Regions from separate parts of the Homo sapiens genome. Here region 1 is linked to region 2. The links are contacts of gene promoters, found by promoter capture Hi-C in human tissues and cell types (Jung and others, 2019). All regions are on one chromosome and are shown on one strand. Each heading gives the region's core, a stretch centred on a gene start or on the middle of the fragment in contact. The rest is flanking DNA. Distances are from core to core; before and after follow the strand shown.

Region 1 (7,157 bases), core at 1,088-3,587, 360 kb before region 2:
TTAAAGAAATTAGCCGGGCATGGTGGCACACCTGTAATCCTAGCTACTCAGGAGGCTGAGGTGGGAGGATTGCTTGAGCCTGGGAGTTTCAGGCTGCAGTGAGCTATGATTGTGTCACTGTGCTCCAGCCTAGATGACAGAGCGGGACCCTGTCTCAAAAAAAGTATATATATATATATATATATATATGCCGGGCGCAGTAGTTCACTCCTATAATCCCAACACTTTGGGAGGCAGAGGCGGGCGAATCACCTGAGGTCAGGAGTTCAAGATGAGCCTGGCCAACATTGTGAAACCACGTCTCTACTAAAAATACAAAAAAACTAGTTGGGTGTGGTGGTACATGTCTGTAATCCCAGCTACTTGGGAGGCTGAGGGCAGGAAAATGGCTTGAACCTGAGAGGCGGAGGTTGCAGTGAGCCGAGATAGCGCCATTGCACTCTAGCCTGGGCAACAAGAGTGAGACTCTGCCTCAAAAAAAAAAAAAAAAAAGTATATATACATATATATGGATGAATTTAACTGCAGCATGAAGGGCTGAGGTTAGGCAGTAGAAAGAACTACTTATTCAAACAAGGGAATTGCTAACACAGGAAGCTAGGATATTTCTTGGAAGTATTTCTCTAGAAAGGAGAGAGCCTAGACTTGGTGGGGCTTGGGGAGCAGGGAACAGGGCATCAAGTATTAAGAGCTGCCTAAGATGGCTCTTCCCAGGCTTCACCTCTAGGGTGGGGTCAGGAGCCAGGGATGGGTGTCCCCAGGCTCTCACCTGACCCTGGGCTCTGGGTAGGAGGCTAGGTGGGTCACCAGTCCCTCCTGCTAACTCCTCCTTTCCTGCCCCAGCCCTAGAAATAAGGCACTCACCAGGGCAAACTTGTTGACTTGCACGTAGAGCCTTTGCACCTCCCTGGGGGTCACGGCCATCCCCTTTTGTGCCTGCAGGTAGTAGTGCAGCCACTGCAGCTGGGTCTCCCGCGCCGGGTACAGGCAGTAATCCACCTCATTCACGCCTGAGGGGGAGGCAGGCCAGACAAAGTTGCTCAGAGATGGGCCCACCAAGGGTCTCCTCAAGCTCAGTAGGTGTTCCCATCTCCCCTCAAACTCCCATCTCCTTTGATCTTTGGGGCTGTGCCCAAGGAGGCGGCCCGAGAAGGCAGCTTCTTTGATTACTAAACTCAGCTAGTGTGGGGTCTACCCCATCCCAGCTAGGAGCACTGTTTCTGTGGGATTGAGGAAAGCAGAGAGAGAGGTAGACTGGTTAAGGGGCAAGACACTGTCCTGGGAGTGACAGGAACCCCTCAAGACAGCACCACTGTCTTTCCCAACCCCTGCACAAAAATGATGGTGCACAGGAGGCCCTCAGTTAAAAGCACTGGATAAGCATTACTAGCCCTAGGTCTTATGCTAACCTTGTTAGCCTTAAGGGAACTCTTTTCTATCACTGGCCGAAATTTCTTCATTTATCAAATGAGGGAGCTGGACTTCATGTAGGGATATCAAACATGGCTTCCTGGTGTTAAGCTGGCTACTTAAAAACATCACCTGGAGAGCACCCCCACCCCAGTCCAGTTCCCCAGATGGCTCTGATGTGTAGCCAGGCTGGGAACCCATGGATCAGATGGCTCTGGTTTCTTCCAGCCCCACCATAGCCCTCCAGCTGCCAGCCCAGTACCACCAGCCTCATCCTGGGCATGGTAGAATAAACCACAGCTTCAGAGCTGGTACAGAAAGAAGTGGTTTAAGACAGGAGGACCAGGACTGGGCCACCTTCTCTAGGGTTCCCTCCTTCCTCTTCTTCTTGTCCTTCTCAAGCTTCCTTTATATCCCTGGAGAAACATACACAGTCTCCTGAGGCTCCAGGAGCGTGGCTAGAAAAGAATCTCCTGGAACAGATGTACAAACGGAGGCCCAGAGAGGAGAAGAAATGCACCCAAGGTCATATGGTGGTTAGAGGCAGAGTCAGGGCTGGAACTCTCATCTCCCAATGCCCAGAACTGTGTCTTCCTCACTCCTGCGCACCCATGAGGCCCCTCTCCCTAGGTCTGGATCTCCCTAGCTCTCTTCCTTCCCCCAGGCTAGGTTCTTCCTCCTCCATTCTCAACTTGAGAGCAGGCTGCAATCTACCCCTTTGGAGAAATTCCAGTTGGATTTTGCTCTGTGCTGTGGGCAAGGAGGACTTAAAATGCTTAAGAATTATCCCTTGTGGAAAGGCCAGGGGGCCTTGCAGCCAAGCATTCCCGGACCCAGGGCCCTGCCAGTGCCAGCCTCTGCTCCATGCCACACCCCGAGGCTCAGCTGCTCTGCCCAGCAGAGGCTCCATCACCCTGGGGGTTCCTAGGTGTACTCTCAGGTACAATCATTGCTCGACAGATTGATCACCTGGGGTTCCAGAAGGAACACAATTGGCCTGATGGGGCTGGAGAATGGCTGTCCAGTTGGCCTGGGCATGCCTCTCTATCCTGAGCCACAGGGCCTGGCCCCATCATGTGAACACTTTACTGTGCTAGTCTGGGGACAGCTCTCCAGCCCCAGTGTCCAGCTCCGTCCATGTGAGTTGCCTCCTCGGTTCCATCTAATTAAGCCCTCAAGCTGGAAAAACCTGCCTTGCCTCCTCTACACAAATGGTTCCATTGTGCATACTATGCCTTTATAGAACACCTGCCTACCCCTAGGAATCACCCCCCTATCCTGCCTCTTCCATCCCCACTCCCGGAAAGCTTCGCAGTCTAATCACAGCAGCAAACACCAATACAATGCTTAGTATGTGTCATACATATGTGTGTGTGTGTGTCTCATATCAACACTATGAGGTAGGTACTATCATCATCTCCATTTTATAGGGGCACAGAGAAGGTAAATAAACTGCCCAAGGGTCACACAGCCAGTAAGCAGCAAAGCCAGAAACTGAACTTAGGGAGTCAAATTACATAGCACATATTTAGATCCTACTTAGATGACTCTCATCAGGCCACCAGGCAAACAGCTACTTGTAGCTTGTTCTGCTCCTTATCTACATGTAAGGCCCTCATGTACAATTGCGCCAGTTGTACTGGGTATAAAGGAGCTTGGACAAAGGAGTGGAGGCTGAAGTCATCCTGTGCTGTGCTAGCCAAGCTGCAGCAATCGTCTAAGCTGGGTCTGCCTGGAGGAAGGGGTCTTTTTCTAATTCATGTACCAAGCTGAGTTACCAAAGTGCCATATGGGCTAGGAGAGGTCTGCTCTGTGTATGTGAGTCCTGTTTCCTCCAATGAGACTTGGAACTCTCTAAAAGCAGGCTGTGCCTTAACCCCTTAAGCTGTGATATTTTGGAGGACAAGAGCTATCTAGCCTCTACCCTCTAAGTATAGAACCACCTCTGGCCTTCCCCATACCCTGGCCCTGGTCCCCATCCTAAAGAGGGTGCTTTGAACGTTGGTCAAATATAGTCCTGTATTGCCTAATGACAGGGATACCTTCTGAGAAATGCACCATCGGGTGATTTTGTGTGATCATCAGTGTACTTACACAAACCTAGATGGGATAGCCTACTACACACCTAGGCTGCATGGTATAGCCTGTTGCTCCTGAGCTACAAACCTGTACAGCATGTTACTATACTGAATACTGTGGGTAACTGTAACACAATGCTAAGTATTTACGTATCTAAACATGTCTAAACATAGAAAAGGTACAGTAAAAATATGGTACCTATTACCGTAAATATACAGTAATCTCATAGGACCACCATCTACATGCGGTCAGTCATTGACTGAAACACCGCTACAAAGCACATGACTGTAGAAATGCCCCTCTCACCTGCAAACTCATTGAAATGGTTGCCAATGTCAAAAGCTTGGTAGTTGTAGCCAGCATATTCATAGTCAATGAACCGCACGTGACCTATGAAGTAGAGGAGAATCGATGAGAGTTGGCCCAGGAGATCTGGCAACAGAGCCTGGTCAAGCTTCCACAGACCTCTGGGATGCACCCACTGAGTGATGCCGGCCTCTGCAGCAACCCTGCCCAATCCCATCACTGCAGCAGTCTTCCAAGCTACTTCCATTCATCCATCCATCCATCCATCCATCCATCCATCCATCCATCCATCTGCCCTTCCCAGCTCCCAGTGTCCCTCTCACACAGCTGGATCTTCAGGCTCTCCTCATCTAAAGACAGCTGTCCTCAGCATGGCTAAGGATCAGGAATAAAGCTAAGTATTAATACGCCCTGGGGTGATGCCCTCATCAGCAACACCAGGATGTGTTCGTTCTCTCTCTTTCTTGGCACAGATTTTTGTTTGTTTGTTTTTGTCTTTTTTTTTTTTGAGACAGAGTCTCGCTCTGTCGCCCAGGCTGGAGTACAGTGGCATGATCTCGGCTCACTGCAACCTCTGCCTCCCTGGTTCAAGCGATTCTCCTGCCTCAGCCTCCTGAGTAGCTAGGATTACAGGCGCACACCACCATGCCCAGCTAATTTTTGTATTTTTAGTAGAGATGGGGTTTCGCCATGTTGGCCAGGCTGGTCTTGAACTCCTGACCTCATGATCCACCCGCCTTAGCCTCCCAAAGTGCTGGGATTACAGGCATGAGCCACCGCGCCTGGCCAGACTTTTTTTTTTTTTTTAAATAGGGTCTTGCTCTGTTGCCCAGGCTGGAGTGTAGTGGCTCCATCATGGCTCACTGCAGCCTCCACCTCCCAGGCTCAAGTGATTCTCCTGCCTCAGCCTCCCGAGGAGCTAGGACTATAGCATGTACCACCATACCAGGAAAAGTTTTGTGTATTTTTTTTGTAGAGACAGGGTCTCACCACATTGCCTGGGCTGGTCTTGAATTCCTGGGCTTAAGCAATCCACATGCCTTGGCCTCCCAAACTGCTGGGATTATAGGCATGAGCCACTGAGACTGGCCCTTGGCACAGACTTTTCAAAGTGGGAATTTTTTATTTCCTTTCCCCCTTCCCTCCTACAAATTAACTTAAGACCTAAATCAAGGTCTAACTTTTGCTTGTCCAAGTGCCAGCCGGAAGAACAGCTCCGTGAAGCCAGCTAACCAACCAACCAAAACCCTGCTGCTGCCCCAGGGCCAGAGAAGCCATACCTTTGATGCTGTCATAGATGATATTCTTGCAGAGCAGGTCATTGTGACAAAACACCACAGGGGACTCCAGCTGGGACAGATGCTCCTTCAGCCAGGCCAGCTCCCGTTCCAACACCTCTACCTTAGGGACATCTGCAGAAAGGCTGGGCAGTGGCAAAAAAGGTAGCCAGTGAAAGGAGGGCTGATAGACAGGTGCTTGGCCTCAAGAGCCCTGAATCTGAGCCTCATCACTCCCTCTGTCTTACTGCAGGGGGCCTTGGAAAAATGGCCAATCTCTTAGACCCTCACTTTTATCATCTGTAAAATGGCACTGAGGCGTCCTGTCCTTCTGACTCCTCTGGTTATGCTAGGAAGCTGATAAAGACATGGGCGTCAAAGCATGAGGCAGAGCATAAAAGTCACTGACTGAGGGCATCCCTGCTACTTTGTGAAAGGAACAGGAGGGTAAGGAAGGAGACACAGGGAAAGGACAAGGCAGGTGAGAACGAGTGTCCAGACCTGGGGATTCCAGACTAAGAACAAGGGCAACAGGAGCAGTGGGGAGAGATGCAAAACAGACCTGATCTTAGGATGCTGGGAAAACTCCCCAGGAGGCGGTGCAGCTCCCTAAGTCGAGCTGACTCCCACAAAGATCCTCCCCAGGAGGAAGAGTAGTGCCCTGGCAGGGAGCTGGAGCAATGGAGCTCTCTTGAGGAGGCAGAGGTATGTCCTGGTATGCACCCCCCTCTCACCCCAGCAGCTGACCATGTCACAGGTAGAAGGGATCAGAGAGACGGTCTGGTCTAACCTCTCATCTCACAAACAGACCATCGGCTCACATGAGAAAGCAAACTAAGAGCTTCTTTAGCTCACTCCTACACTGTCAAAGGAACATTAAAGCCTTCAATGAAGAGCATGCTTGCTTTGTGGCTCCCCATTGACTCATCCCTTCTACCTTGAGTTATGAGTAAGTGTTCCCTTGTCCCAGACCCCTGCCATATCATGCAAGTGCAACCTGGGGGCATGAACAAAGATGCATGGGTCAACCTCTCCTGCTGCCCCACCCCCATCCCAAGCACTCAGCAGCCATTTCTGCTGAAAGAAACACATGTTGAGGAATGAAGAAATCAGCCAATCAATCAAGTTATCAGAGGCCATGTGGAAGTCTGATGAGGGTCCACTGTGCTTGTGTGCTCTGAACTTTGGTCCCCAGGAGGCACACAGGTCTGTGTACACTGAAAAGGCCAAACACTTATCACAGTCCTTAAAAAACCTAGAACCACCAATGGGCAGAGGGGAGGAGGCTGGGCTTTTATCTCCATTCCTGTGTCACCTGTTTGTGTTTCTCTGTCCAGGGTAGCAAGAGCACATAGAGAAGGATGAGGATGAGACCGGCCCTCTCTCACCTTCCCACAGGACAGACCGATCACTCCCTCACCCAGCCCAGGGGCCAGAACACGAGAAAGAGTATTCAGTGACTGAGGCACTCCTCTGCCCCCTCTGGAGAAGGAAGAGAGGACAGGGTCCCTTCCAGGCTTTGAGAAGGTCAAAGCTCAAGAAGATCTGAGGTTATCTAGTCCAGCCCCATTGGGAAACTGAGGCTCAAGGAAGGAAAGAGCCTCCCTCCAAGCCTCCAGATACCTCTTGCACTGCTGGATCCTTTACTTCTTCATTTAAGGAAAGCAGTCCTTGGCCCGTCCAAGGATCCAAATCGAACGGAGTCTCCTAATTGTGAGGACTGTGCACTCTCTCTGAAGGCCTGGGTGCCCCTCAGAGGTTCTGCAAAGGCCTCTCTGAGTCCAGGGAGTCTGCTGGGAGAGGTGATATGGGGGAGGCCTCCCCCATGCTTCCTGGAGTTTATCTGTGCCGACAGGTCTGCGTAAGATGTGTTTCAGTCCTGGCTCTCCTTAAGAAGCTACCTTTTAAGATTCCTTTTTTTTTTTTCTTGGACTGAGACCATCAAAAGGGAAGAATTAGGAGGGTTCCTTTGGTTTGCTCAGGTCCCGGCCTGAAAAACATGGCTCTGACATCCAAGATGCCTGCTGCTCTGTCCCTGACTTCAGTCTGAACCCCACCCTGCCCACCCCAAGGCCACGCAGATGG
Region 2 (6,794 bases), core at 777-3,276:
AGCCGGGTCTGAGAGCTTGATCAGATTCAGCCATACACACTCAGCAGTAAGCTCAGAGCCATGGCAATCAAACCTCAGGCTCACCCAAAGGCCAAAGGAGAAGCAGCCACAGCCTGGGTCTAGGGCTCCAGCTCAGAGCCACCATCTCTTCAGATGCTGGCTGCCAAGCAGAGCTATAAAATGTGCCTCGACTTAATTTTTCCATGGACACAACCTCAAGATGGGCCAGCCAGACTCTGGAGGAGCTGGGATTCCAAAGTCTCACTGCCTGTCTGCTCTGGGATCGGCAGCTGGAGTTGGGGAGAGGGAAGTATTTGGGGGTCGGCATTGCCACCTCCTGGGCCATTTCTCTTCCTAATATCTTCCCAAAGCCTGATGCAGCAACAGAGTAAGTTTTCATTCAGCACTGATTCAGGGTTGGAATTTAGTACAAATTGCTTACATCTGCCTGGCCATATCCCAAATAGGTAGTTTAGAGCAAGGAGGAGGGGCAGCATTGGCCCACTTCTTGGAGCCCGGGTAGCCGCCTGCTAAAGAATCTGGTGCCATGCTGGGACCAGCCAGCCCAGGGTACAAAACTCTCCAACAGAGTTGAGAAAAAACAGCCCAAGAGAGCTGCCAGAGACAATACAGCGATTCCATCCCAGGCATGATTGGAAGGGCTGGGGCAGGGAAGCTACGAAGACCCCAGAAGCGGGTGGAGAGGAGAAAAGGCAGGCCTGAAGGAGCAAGAGCAATGGCAGAAAACACACACACACACACACACACACACACACTTCAACATCAGCCAACTAGGGTGTGTGCACTAACCTCATACATTTGGTAACCTCTTCCCACAATCCAGAAGCCTGCCAAGCCCCTGGGCTCCCCACCCTACTCCACCCCACACCAGCTTGGCAGCCTTGCTTGTGCTTCCTGCTGCGATTGCTCCTCCAACATCAAAGTCACCGCTGTCGGGAGCTGAAAATGAGGGACAAGTATAGGCCAGGAGAGCAGCGCCTTCTCCCAGCACCGGCGAACTCAGGCCTGAGGGTCCCTCTCCCTCTTTCAAGCTTTCAGTCTCCTTTTGCTGCAGTATCCTTATAAGGGAGAATCCAATTCTACCCTCCGCCCGACTAAGAAACGTACACATTCCCCAGGCTAGATGCCGACTTCTCACCCAGTCCACAGAAGGCACTAACCCCATCACAGGACAGGTTTTGCTTTTTTTATTTCTTATCTTAAATAAACAAACCCCAAAGCCATTGACTGGTTCAGATCGCCCTGCAGCTGGGAGCCAGGAAGTGTGTTTAGCGAGAAGGGGGTGGGGACGCGGGTGCCTGGAGCCCCAGAGGCCCTGAAGCTGCTGGAGTGGAGTGGAGTGGGGTGAGGGGCAACCTGCTCTGCCCGGCGGGCAGGAGCTCAGGCTCCCACGGCGTCCGCCGCTCAGCCCGCCGCCAGGAACCCTCGGCTGCTTCCATTGTTGCACCTCCGCTGTTGCCATGTTGGAGGGAGAGCCCCCTGACCTCGGCTGCCTCCACTCTGGGGGCACTTTACAGACGCTGGGGCCGATGCAACCCGCAGGATGCGTGTCCTACCTGCGCTAGCTGCTGGCTCTGCTGCAACATCCGACGTGTCTTGTGCCTGGCGACGTGGGCTGCTCGCTCCGCGCCTCCCGGGCTCGCTCTGCGGCTCCAGGCGCCTCTTGCACCAGCGCGAGAGGAGCTGGCCGGCCGCACGCCGCCTGCTCCCGGGCCGCTCCCCTCTCCAGGCTCCGCACAGACCCTAGGCTCCAAGGGGCAGAGGGAGAGGCAGCAAAGGGCGCAAGGACCAGCTTGTGGGGGTGGGGAGGGGTGCTCTCCGCCGAGAGCGTGCGCGAGCTCGCAGAGTCAGGCCACCCCGGGTGAGACAATAGCGGCAGCAGCGGGCGAGAGAGGGGAAGCCATCTCCCGGACACCCGGCGCACTGCACGGCGACGCGACGCTCGGCCAGACCCTGCCTGGACAGGCAGGCACCCGGCCGCCGGCTCCAGCCGCAGCGCCGAATCCGCCGCGAGCCGGAGGGCGGGGCGGCTGCTGGAACCCGGGCCGCCCTTCGCCTCTCCCCTCCCCTTCCCCCTCCTCTTCTCTTCTCCTCTCCTCCTCTCCCCTCCGACTCCCGCCCCACTTGCCATTGCGTGGGGGAAGAGAAACGCGCTGGCGTCAAGTTGTGCTCTGCAACCCAAGAGCCAGGATTTCCACTCCCCACTTGGGTGAGGGTTTTTGCGGATGGTCGTTAGTTTCCCCTGCTGGAACCCCTTGGCTTTGGGTCAGAGGAAAGCTCAATCATTCTGCTAGAAATGACGGTGCTGAGGTCCAGTTATCCGTTTCAGGAATTTCTACCATAATTACGGTAGCGATGTTCGGGGGATCCCCTACCTTGAGGGTTAGGTTGGGGTAGAGAGAGGCTGTCTCCGGGCTTTACACGCTCAGTGTCATTCGTCTTTCTGTCTCCTTCCTTCCTCCCTTTCTGGAAGGGGAGTCTCGTTTGTTTTTGTATTCGCCCAGGTGGATCTTCCGAGCTGCGATCCAGGAAACAGCAGTCAACCTAAGTAGGGAGGGGAGATAGAGGATCCTCCAACCCAACTAGGGTAGTGAGAAAAAAAAGTAAAAAAAAAAAACCTTTCATACAATATGTTATATTTAAATTTTCTACTCTAAATACCTTTCTTCCAGCAGTGGTCTCTGGAAGAATTTTCCTAAAGGCTCCACCCAAAAGAAACCATGAGTTGGCCAGCTCCTCGTTTGCATTTGGTTTGCATAGTACCAACGATCACTAATCTCAAAGTATATTTTCCTAAAAACGTGAATCGTGTTTTCCTCCACTGCCCTCATTTCTTCTTTCTTTCTCGACAGACTATGAAGATTAACACCTGGTCCTCAGCCTCTCAAGTAAAACCATGATTAAATAAATTTGTTATGCTTTTCTCTGGTTAACTTGTCTTTTGTTATAGAAGTGTCGGCTGTGACTCTTATGATGGGGAGGAAAGGGATCACTCCCCTTTCTGATCCTACAGTGCCTTCTGTACCCAATGCTTGTGACTTTCAGTATTCCACTTCACCCTCTGAATATCAAGAATAGCGTCCTCACCTATCACGCTTTCGTAATGATCAAAGGAGAGAATGTAGGTGAAACATCTTGATAATTAACTGAAGGCAGCTTGGTCTGCACATATGTCATAATGTATATGATGCTACTCCTGATCTCAGGAGCCACAGGGGTTAAAAAACGTGTCCGTGCACTTCTTCACCATACAAATATTTATGACAGCTTACTCTGTGTCTGTCATCAGGTCAAGCTCAGGAGCCTGAGAGAACAGAGTGTTACAGGGGCCACTGGTGGTTCTTTTTTTTTTTTTTTTTTTTGAGACGGAGTCTTGCTCTGTCGCCCAGGCTGGAGTGCAGTGGCGTGATCTCGGCTCGCTGCAAGCTCTGCCTCCCGGGTTCACGCCATTCTTCTGGCCCAGCCTCCGGAGTAGCTGGGACTACAGGCGCCCGCCACTATGCCCAGCTAATTTTTTCTTTTTTTTTTTTTTTTTTTTTGTATTTTTAGTAGAGACAGGGTTTCACCGTGTTAGCCAGGATGGTCTCGATCTCCTGACCTTGTGTTCCACCCACCTCGGCCTCCCAAAGTGCTGGGATTACAGGCGTGAGCCACCGCGCCCGGCGACCACTGGTGGTTCTATGCTGCTGGGGTGAAAAGTCTGAAGGAAAGAACTAACAGGAAGTAGGCATAGGTAGCTGAGTGGAGGATCAGATCACAGGCTTTATCATGCATTTTGGTAAGGAAAAAATTGAATAAAGAGAAACCAGGGCATGCCAAAAAGTTTAGGTGCTGTAGGTGACAGAGAACCTGCTGTGCACAAATGGAACTGGGAAGTAGTGTGACCAGAAAAAGACTTCCTGGCATATTATAGAGAAGGATTTGGAAGATGCACTGCATGTCTTCCGTTTGCCCCTCCAGATCTTCCTGGCCCTCTGGCTTCCTAGACTGGGTTGGCCAATGGGGGCCATGGCTGAAGATTGAATAAGGAGGGAGGTCAGGGGAAACTGGATATTTATTCTTCAGGATTCCTCTCTTTGGGGTCACAGTGCGCTGGCTGCCACCCTCAACCAAAGATCACAGCTTCCACGGGTGGTTCTCTCTCCCCTCCCTCTCTCTTTTGTTTTTCTTTTTTTCTTTTTCTTGAGACCGAGTCTCACTCTATTGCCCAGGCTGGAGTGCAGTGGCTTACTGCAACCTCTGCCTCCCGGGTGCAAGCGATTCTCCTGCCTCAGCCTCCTGAGTAGCTGGGACTACAGGCGCATGCCACCATGCCCGGCCAAATTTTTTTTGTATTTTTAGTAGAGACAGGGTTTCACTTTGTTAGCCAGGATGGTCTCAATCTCCTGACCTCATGATCCACCCTCCTCAGCCTCCCAAAGTGCTGGGATTACAGGCGTGAGCCACAGTGCCAGCCCCCTCCCTCTCTCTTGATTCAGGTAATCACTCCCCTCCTTTGACTTTTCGGGCCTGGGGGTGGAAACATTGATTTGCTACTGGCCCTAGTAGATTGTACACTATTTCTTGTGGTTTTCCTGTACTCCGCCGACCCTTTATAAATTGTCCCCTTATTTTTTAACCTCTCCTCAAATTACCCCTCAAGTGCAGTGTGCCATTTGCTTTCTGCCAGGACCTAGTAACACAAGTCAGGAGTGCAGCCTGGGAGCTCAACAGAGAAACCATGGCTACGTTCCAGGTGGGAAATCAGGGAATCTCAAAACTGTGCCAGAGCTGTGGCAGTGGGGATGAAAAAAACGGAGCAGATACAAAAGATACTTATAAAGAGAAATCAATAGTATTTGATAAATATATAAAATGTAGGAAATTAGGGAAGAGGAGGACTCTGGAATTACTCCCCATTTGAAGCCTTAGAAATTGTTGGCAGGTGGTACCATTCCCTAAGTTAGGGACAATTAGAAAGACAGGGCCCAGGTGTTGGCAGAGGGATCTTGAGCTTAATTTTGAACATGTTGGGTTTGAGGTATCTGTGGAATGTCTAGATGGGGATGTCTAGTAGACAGCAAACTTATGAAACTAAACTCATATTGGGGTGTGAACAAGTGATAGCAGCTTTGGATTCTGTAGGTTATGGGTAGTCAGTGAAGTTATAAGCCTGTATGAGGTCGTCCAGATGGGCATAAGGAGGAAAGAAGAAACAACCAGAGAGGTAAGAGAAAAACTGGAGGCCACAGAGTGTCAGAAACTAGGGTGGGAGAATCTCAGAAGAGAATGACTGGATAACCAGTGCAGCAGGAACCTCCAGGAGGGTAGGCTAGAAAATGCCTCCAGTGGATTCTAGGCCTAATTCATTCCCTGATTCAAAGCTGGTGCTCAATAAATTATTGGTCACTAAGTGAATGAATGAACCTGGATCTGGAATAAAAGACACATGCTTTTTCTAGAAGCTTGGCAATTTAAGACAAGGAGAAATATAAGGCAGTGGGTAGAGGGGAATGCAGGATCAAAGGGGAGACTTTTGTTTTTTCTTTTTAGGATAAGAAAGGCTTAAGCATTTTCATATGCTGAAGAGTAAGACCAAGGAGAGCGAGATCATGAATAGGAGGGAGTTGGGACCCAGGTATATGGGGTGGAGCTGCCTCTGATATCTTTGAGAGGAAGGCTGTACAAAAGCAGAGGCATCTGTAGACTGGTAAAGAGACTAGAACTTGAGACTAGATGTTGAGAGGACTAGTTGCTGCCTTGTAGTCTCTAAGCAATCTGCTGAGAGAGAAAGGCTCAAGATGAGGTTAAAGGCTTAAAGAAAGTGGTTAAGGTTGCTGGGCACGGTGGCTCACGCCTATAATCCCAGAACTTTGGGAGGCCGAGGTGGACGCATCACCTAAGGTCGGGAGTTCCAGACTAGCCTGACCAACATGGAGAAACCCCGTCTCTACTAAAGATACAAAAATAGCTGGGCGTGGTGGCGCATGCCTGTAATACCAGCTACTCGGGAAGCTAAGGCAGGAGAATCGCTTGAACCAGGGAGGCAGAGGTTGCGGTGAGCCGAGATCGCGCCATTGTACTCCAGGCTGGGCAACAAGAGTGAAACTCCATCTCAAAAAAAAAAAGTGGTTAAGGTTAAAATAGAAAGGAATAAGGAATGAGAGTGGTAGCTCCAGAGAGAGGAGAGAGAGAGAGAATTGTCAGCAGAGTTGAAGATACAGCTGGCATTGGATACTCTAATATGTTGTGGCTATGAATAAAAACATCCGAATGTTTTCATCATTTTCTTCTGCAGCACTTGGAAGCCCAGGTGTAGAACATGAGGTCAGGTTTCCAAGATAGGTACAGTAGAGGCATAAAAGGAAAAGAGGGCTCCTGACAAAAGAGGAAGTCCTCAAGGACGGAAGTGAAGCTCAGCAAAGGCTGTGAATCTTCAAGAAGCGGGAGGAAAGGGACTGAGCTACCTCTAATCTTATTCCCCTTCCAATCTTTTCTCAAGTAACCCAGCCAGGGTGATGTTTCCAAAGCAAACATCTGCTTCTCCTGCTTAAAATCAACTAACATGTAGGACATGGCATTTTTTGACTTTGGTTTTTAAACATCTGTATTCTCAGAGCCTAGAACAATGCCTGGCACTTGTGCTCACAAAATTTTTGGCAGATGAATTAATGCATGACTTTCTCTAACTCTTAAAGTCCAATCTCCTAAGGAAACTCTGAATTCTCTCACAGTCAGCCCTTGCTTTTCATTCTAGCCTCAGAGAACAAGGACTTTGTCTTGTGCATCCCTGC

The links. The method cuts DNA at HindIII sites, captures the fragments that hold promoters and counts their contacts. A contact is called where the count stands out against the background at its distance.
Region 1: a fragment that was not itself captured here is called in contact with the fragment with the promoter of PIK3C2B in region 2 in 1 of the 25 tissues and cell types used here (bladder).

The regions. Positions count from the first base shown.
Region 1 is chr1:204,136,240-204,143,396 of GRCh38, forward strand. ETNK2 (ethanolamine kinase 2) reads right to left here. Exons shown (of 8, transcript NM_018208.4): 4 at 5,076-5,218; 5 at 3,796-3,879; 6 at 865-1,010. It overlaps ERLNC1 (estrogen receptor responsive lncRNA 1), which reads left to right and starts at 5,169. Exons shown (of 3, transcript NR_123739.1): 1 at 5,169-5,237; 2 at 5,326-6,021; 3 at 6,410-6,770. The HindIII fragment of the contact is 3,100 bases long and covers 788-3,887 here.
Region 2 is chr1:204,492,779-204,499,572 of GRCh38, forward strand. PIK3C2B (phosphatidylinositol-4-phosphate 3-kinase catalytic subunit type 2 beta) reads right to left here and starts at 2,027. Exons shown (of 33, transcript NM_001377334.1): 1 at 1,578-2,027. LOC124904584 (translation initiation factor IF-2) reads left to right here. Exons shown (of 2, transcript XM_047439554.1): 2 at 1,398-2,954. The coding sequence ends at 2,418. RefSeq lists silencers at 68-147, 1,707-2,176 and enhancers at 1,217-1,406, 1,477-1,606. The HindIII fragment of the contact is 7,537 bases long and covers 1-6,666 here.